Regions from separate parts of the Homo sapiens genome. Here region 2 is linked to region 1. Evidence: promoter capture Hi-C in 16 types of primary human blood cells and fetal thymus (Javierre and others, 2016). All regions are on one chromosome and are shown on one strand. The core of a region is centred on a gene start or on the middle of the fragment in contact, and the rest is flanking DNA. Distances in the headings are between cores, read along the strand shown.

The links. Contacts are between HindIII fragments. The CHiCAGO score rates a contact against its expected background, and 5 or more counts as called.
Region 2: a fragment that was not itself captured here is called in contact with the fragment with the promoter of TBX2 in region 1 in 5 of 17 cell types (M0 macrophages, M2 macrophages, M1 macrophages and 2 more); the score reaches 9.1 in M0 macrophages.

The regions. Positions count from the first base shown.
Region 1 is chr17:61,397,979-61,401,529 of GRCh38, forward strand. TBX2 (T-box transcription factor 2) reads left to right here and starts at 1,865. Exons shown (of 7, transcript NM_005994.4): 1 at 1,865-2,593. The coding sequence starts at 2,199. TBX2-AS1 (TBX2 antisense RNA 1) reads right to left here and starts at 1,628. Exons shown (of 2, transcript NR_125751.1): 1 at 1,261-1,628. RefSeq lists promoters at 822-2,082, 1,702-1,949 and a cis regulatory region at 1,938-1,949. The HindIII fragment of the contact is 11,976 bases long and covers 1-3,551 here.
Region 2 is chr17:61,548,304-61,551,854 of GRCh38, forward strand. No RefSeq gene overlaps it. Among named protein-coding and RNA genes, the nearest start is that of NACA2, 41 kb to the right of the region's middle. The HindIII fragment of the contact is 2,245 bases long and covers 529-2,773 here.

The DNA.
Region 1 (3,551 bases), core at 615-3,114:
AAAGCTGCCCTGGTTATTATCTGGTCACCTCACCGGCTGCGCAAACGTGTCCACAACGGGTCCCTCCCCGAGAGGCCACATCTCGCCTAAGGTGGAGCCAGCAGGTATTTGCCTGTGGAAAACTGCAGTGGATCCTGCCCCGTCTGCGTAGACTGCGCAGCTCGGAGTCAAAGATTCGTTCTGGCCAGAGAGGAGGTACTAAGAGAGGTGCGACCTAGCCAAGAACGAGGTCGTGGAGAAAACCCTGTGGGGGCGGCGCTCACATATGCGGTGATGAGGAGTTGTGAGGGCCCTGGGGTCGGCCCCGAAAAGTAGGGATAACGGTCGCAGAGGCCATACTGCTTCCGCCGGTCCCGAATCCGCACTGCCAGGAGAGATCCGGCCTTCAAACGCTGCTCCCAACGTTCAACAACGAAGTGCCCTGCGACCGGTGTGCGCAGTGGGCGGGCGCCTGCATGGGTCAATGTTGGATGTACGCGCCCACCACGCGGTTGTACGGGTGGGAATGTCACCCGTGGCTAGTGCATGCTCTGTCTTTTCCTTCAGAAAACGACCTTCAGGAATCAGCCTGAGTGTTCGCGCCCGAGCCCGATTGGAAGCAGGTGCGTGGTCGCTTCACTCTCCCCGTGCACACCTTGAGTTATAGCTCTCGCTGCGCACAGAGGGCACCACACGGGGCCCGACACACACACACACACACACACACACACACACACACACACACACACCATCACTTCATGGGGGGGAAACTGAGGCTGCCGGAAGACAGAAAACGAAGACTGATCACAGAAGAGGGGGCTTCAATCACAGGTGCTCGCAGACACCCCAACTCCCTCACGCGTTACTCAGCACTCCTTAACTTAGGAGACGTGCGCTTCCGAGAGATGAGAAGAAACTAAAAAAGTGGTTGGCAGGGCGAAGAGAGGAAGCCGGTATTTCGGAAGAAGGAGACTTTCGTCTCCGGTACCGGATAGGGCGAAAATTCGTTGGGTCGCGGGTGGAGAATCCGGGGTCCGCCCGCGCGGTGCCGCCCTGTGCTCAGCGAAAGGTGCGCTCACCTTCCTGGCCCCGAGGATCCGCTCCTCCCGGCCGCTGGAAAGCTCAGGGCGGGGCCCGGGCCTGCGGAGAACTCCAGGTTCCTTCCGAGTCTTCCGGTGAAGGCGGGCGCGGGTAGGGGGTCCCCGCGTTTCCCCAGCGCAAGGCCGCGTCCCGCTCCCGCCCGCGCCGGCCCCAGCAGGGCTCGGCCATGGCTCCACTCACCAGCTCCCGCCACCTGGGATCCGCTCCCGGACCTCGGCCGCCCGAGCCTCCCGACTCGCCCGCCCACCGGCCTCGCTTTCCAGTGCCTGCTGTCTCTTTCCGGGGCGCAGGGACCCCCAGGCGGCGCCACGACCCGGAGCTGGGTCGGAGGCCAGGCTGGGGCTCGGGCCAGAGCGGCCGGGCCTCTGGGCGCGGGAGAAGGAGGGCGCCCCCTCTCCGCTCGGGGTCGTGTCAATGCTTTGCACTTGGGGCCGGCGTGCGGCTGCGGGTCCTTCCCCAAGGCCCCGGGACCCGGGCTCCCCTCGCCTCAGGCCCTTTCGGCGGGTCAGGTCGGCCCTCCGCGCTCTCCAGTCCGGCGCAGGCAGCCGCAGGCGCGGGCGGGCGGTGGGGGCCGGGGCAGGAGGAGGGGTCTCGGGGCCCGGCGGCCCGTCATTGGTTAATATTTTATTCTGTTGACATGTTTTCTTACTGCTGAGGCTTCCGACACCTTCTCCCAGGCCCCCCCTCCCGGCCGGAGCTTGGCCTGAGCTGTCAAAACCCCGCCCCCGGAGACCCACAATTGGTCCAAAAAGCGTAAAATCAGCAATCAAGGGGGGCCTGGCTCGTTAGCGCAGGGGATCCGAGCTGGGCAGGACATGTGAGATAGTCACAGTTTTCCAGAGATCACGACAAGATCTAACCAGTCGCGCGTGGTCCCCGGCGCCGGAGCGGGCCAGCTCAGCCCGGCCCAGCCCGGCCCCGCGCAGAGCCCCCGCCGCCCCCGCGCACAGAGCCGGGTGCCCCTTGCGGTGCGCCGGACGGGAAGCCCCGAGGAGCAGCTGCTGCGCCCGCCACCCGGGTCGTCCGTCCACCGCGCGCGCCGCCGCCCGGGCCGGGGGTCCGAGCCGCGCGCCCCCGGCCCCGGCCCCGGCCCCCGGGCGCCTGGGCCGGATGTCCCGATGAGAGAGCCGGCGCTGGCGGCCAGCGCCATGGCTTACCACCCGTTCCACGCGCCACGGCCCGCCGACTTCCCCATGTCCGCCTTTCTGGCGGCGGCGCAGCCCTCCTTCTTCCCGGCACTCGCGCTGCCGCCCGGCGCGCTGGCCAAGCCGCTGCCCGACCCGGGCCTGGCGGGGGCGGCGGCCGCGGCGGCGGCGGCGGCAGCAGCGGCCGAGGCGGGGCTGCACGTCTCGGCACTGGGCCCGCACCCGCCCGCCGCGCATCTGCGCTCCCTCAAGAGCCTGGAGCCCGAGGACGAGGTGGAGGACGACCCCAAGGTGACGCTGGAGGCCAAGGAGCTGTGGGACCAGTTCCACAAGCTAGGCACGGAGATGGTCATCACCAAGTCCGGGAGGTAGGGCTGCCGGCCGGCTGGAAGGCGCGCGGGCGGGCGGGCGGGCTGGGGCACGGGACTGCACGGATCAGAGCAGAGCTGGGGACTCCCGGCTCCCGGCTCCCGGCTCCAGGTTCTGGCCCTGACGCCACGCTTCGCTCCCACGGACAACCAAGTTGACTTTTCTCGTTTGGCACCGGAGCGATTTTTTTTTAAAACAAAAACGCTAAAATCCTCCGAATGAAATAAAACGAAAACATACTGCTAAAGAATAGCCCCAACCGTTCTGAGTCCCAGCGCAGAGGAGGCCCCGCGGCTTGGCCCTGGCGGTCTCCTCCGCCCCGCGCTCTCGCTCTTCTGCGTCCGGGTCCGTCTCCGAGCTCGGGGGAAATTCAGCCTCTCTCAGACTCTGCTCCGACCCCGAAGCCCCTAGTGGGACCTGGGCCCAGCTAACCCCACGCTGGTTGCTCGGTTCCTGGCAGCGAGCCCCGGGTCAGCCGAGCCCTCCGCCTCACCGGGCTGGGAGCCCTTTCTCCACCGCGGGCATCCGAGCCCTGGACGCATCCGCCGCCCCAGGCCTTAAAGCCTGAAGAAAGCCACAGCCCCGGCCCCTCCACCCTTCGACTCAGCCACCGAGAATCCAGGCCTCGGGTTCACCCTCTTCCCCCGAACTGCACGGCCAGGATGTCTTATCAGGCTCTGTAGCCCAGTTCCCAATACAAACACCCTCCAGATTTATTTCTGGGAGCTTCCGTCCCAAGTGGGTATTTCCCCTGAACGAATTTCGGGGAGATTAAGGAGAAGCGAGAATATTTCTAGAGGGCCTAGACTTCTCTCCTGGGCATCAGCTTTCATCTCAGATCAGGGAGAAAGAGGGTCCCCAGATCTGAGCACAAGGCCTAAAGGAGGCTGTTTAGGAGAGGGTCTGACAGGCAGAAATGGGATCTCCTGGGAGCAACAACCACAGGTGGGGTCGTCC
Region 2 (3,551 bases), core at 401-2,900, 150 kb after region 1:
TGTTACTGAATAATGTATATTTTAAAGCTATGTTCTTGTTCATAAAAGTTCAAAATTCTTATTTCTTCTTGATGGATTATATTTTTACCAAAATGAAAAATCCTTGTCCCTTTTGTCGTTTTTCATCTTTTACACTAAAACTAGTATTTTGTCTGAAATTAATATTACTATATCTGCTTCCTTATTTTAACATTTATCTGGGATAGATTTTTCCATTTCTTCACTTCAAACTTTTCTTCATCATTTTATCTTATATATGAATCTTGTAAATAACATATGACAAGATTTTTTTAAAACCTAATTGGATTTTCTGTCCTTTAATTGGAAAATTTAACAGGTTTACATTTATTAAGAATACCGGTATATTTTGACTTAATCTTGCTACCTCACTTTATGTTTTCTATTTACTATTGTTTCTTTTTTTATTGTCTTCTGTTGGATTTATTTATTTCTTCTTTTTCCCTTTATTTATTGTTTTGGAAACTATATATTCCATTTTCCTAATGGATTCTTTTACATTTTACATTAAGCTTTCTAATTTTTCTCTTTTTAAAATCATTTGTGTATATATCTAGGCACCTCTTGGCCCCAACACGAATCTTAGCAAACATTCATCTTCTTTCTTGTACTTTTGTCTTTCTTCTTCTACTTCACACATTGAAGTCATCTGGTACTTTAGTTCCAGGTTGTTGTTAACTATTTTTCATTATGCTTGAATATCATCAGACTTATTCTAGGTTTTACTTCTTTGCTTACCGTTTGTTTCTGATATCTCTTATAGTCCTCTGAATTCCTTTTTTGGCAGGGGTTGGGATGGCTTATGTCTTTTAGTAATTCTCTAAAGAGAAAATTTGTGGGTGGTAAACTTCTAAGTCTTACTGTGTCTGCAAATGTCTTAATTTTTGTCTCACTATGTAAATATTAATTAACTAGGAATAATATTTTAGTTTTAAGATAATATTCCCTCATTATATTGAGCTATTATTTCATCTCAATATAATTTTGGTATCTAGTCCTAGTAATTAGACATGAAATGCCAATGTAAAATCTACGCTTTTGTAGATGGTTTTTCCTGTCTTTATTCTTGGTATTTTGAGGTAAGCCCACGATGCAGGCCCTTTCCATCTGCCTTCAGACCTGGGAAATTTTCTTCTATTATTTCTTTGATTATTTCCTCCCTTCCATCGGCTATGGTCTCTTTCAGGAGTTCTTCAAAATATGTAATCTGATAGACTTTTTCTTGTTTTTTGACATTTTATGACTTTTTTGGGAGAAACAGGCATATAATCAGTTCAAAATCTTAATCTAGTCTTTCTATGCATTATTAAGGAAATTTTAAGATAAATGTCAAATTATACTTTTGAATGTGATTGAATTTGGGCTCTGGTTATTTTTCCAAATAATATATTTTTAAAATCCTTGAATGGATTCCCTTTAGATAACTCTATGGAATTTTTCACTCCTTCAACCAATATTTATTTAGTGCCTAATTTTTGCTTGGCATTGTTCTAGGTTCTAAGGATTCAAAGTTTTTTAAAAAGATACAATTTTAAGGTCTGACACAGAGTTTCCCAACCTTGGTACTACCCATGTTTGACTGGATAATTCTTTGTTGTGGGAGGTTGTCCTGGCCATGAGAAGATGTTCAGCAGCATCTCTGGCCTCTACCCAATAGATGCCAGTAGCACCACCACCACCCCATTGCTGTGACAATAAAAAATGGATCCAGTCATTGCCAAATGTCCTCTGATGGGCAAAATTGCACTGCCCCCAGCACACTCTCTGTCACCACTGAGAATCATTGGTTTAGCAGGAGAAATAGCTAGTATACTACCGGGTCTATGGCAGTGGAAGAATATATAGAATGTTGGCACAAAGAAGGTAATGCCTGAGGTTCAGGAAATGTTTTACAATGCAAAAGATAACTTGGCCTGGATCTTAAAGGAAGAATTAGGTACTGGTCAGGTAAACAAGGAATAAGGGAAGAAAGAATAGTAATATTCAGGAGAAAAACAGCATGCGAAGACAGAAAGGTTGAAACAATTTGATGCATCTGAGAAACTCTTAGTAGTTCAGTTCAGTGTGTGGTTGGAATACAGATCTGAGGGCTATGGTAAAAAGGGAAGAAAACAATAGAGCTGGAGAGGTAGTTAGGGACAAGGTTATAAAGGAACAGGCAGGCTATGCTAGGAAATTTGTGCTTTGTTCAGCAGTGATGGAAAACCACTGGAAGTGTTAAGCAGGGAAATGGCATTTTAGGAAGACAGTTTTATAAATATGCAATGAATGGTTTAAAAAGATATGAAACTAGAAATAGGAAGACTGGATAGAAGAAAATTATAACAACCAAGTTAAGGACCCAAACTAGGGCAATGGGGGCCCGAGAGATGGAAAATGGGACATGCAATATATAGGAGGTAGAAATGATAAAATTTCCTGATTGTTATATGGAGAATAAAGAATTGGGAGGATTAAGGACAATGTCAAATTTTGGTGAAAAGAAAGGGTAAATGGAGCTGTTAGCAAATTGTGTTTACAGGTAGAAAATTCAAATAAATATCCCTGGGACAAAAACAAAAAACAAAGAAAACAAAAAAACCCTAAGTATCTTATAGCTCTATAGTTCTAAACACAATAGACAAGACATAAATTGATAGTTTTTAGAAAAACAGAACCAACACCCCCCATCTTTCCCAAAAAATCACTGTTTACTTTCATCACAACAAATTTCAACATCTTCTCTAAACATTTTCTCATGGTCTTTTTATCCCAAAGCTTTAAGAGAATGCTTTATATATATTTTTTCAAATTATTTCACTGTTAACTGATTTTTGACACATTATTTCAGCTGTTACAAAAGACTGTGAAATTTTAAGCCAAGATCGGACCATGAGGACTAAATTTTTTTGTTTATTAATGACATAAAAAATAGACAATTGTATCCATAAAATGACTTAAGTTCCATAAGCAACCATAAACGCCAAATAATTCAAGGTTTGGAGAATTTTTTTTTTCAGCATCTTTGCTGAAGAACTATGGTACTGAGGACCTCTACTGTTGAGAATATGAATGGCTTCACTGCTAGGATTAAATTTTCAGGGAATAAAAACATCAACCAGGCATAGGCAATCTACAGTCTGCCCAAAGTACAGAAATTATTTTCAGAGGCACACGGATAGTTGTGTCACTGGAACCTACGCAGAAATGCGTATGAGGTAGAATTTAGGTCTCCTCTCACCTTCTGGACTTCTCTACCTCCGTGTGCCCAGGGTCTAGTGCTGTCTTCTGGCTTGAGTCTGTGTTGGGCCTGATTACTACAGGTTTTTTTTTTTGTTGTTGTTCTTACTCTGTTCTTTTTTCTTTTCTTTTCTTCTCCTTCCTTCCTCTTTCTTTCCCTCTCTCGTTTTTCTTTCTCTCTTCCTCCCTTCATTCTTCTTTCTTTCTTTTTCCCTCCCTCCCTCTCTCCCTGTCTTTCTTTCTTTTTTTTTCTTTTTTTTGAGACAGAGTCTCTCTCTGTCACCATGCTGGAGTGCAGTGGTGCGATCTCGGCT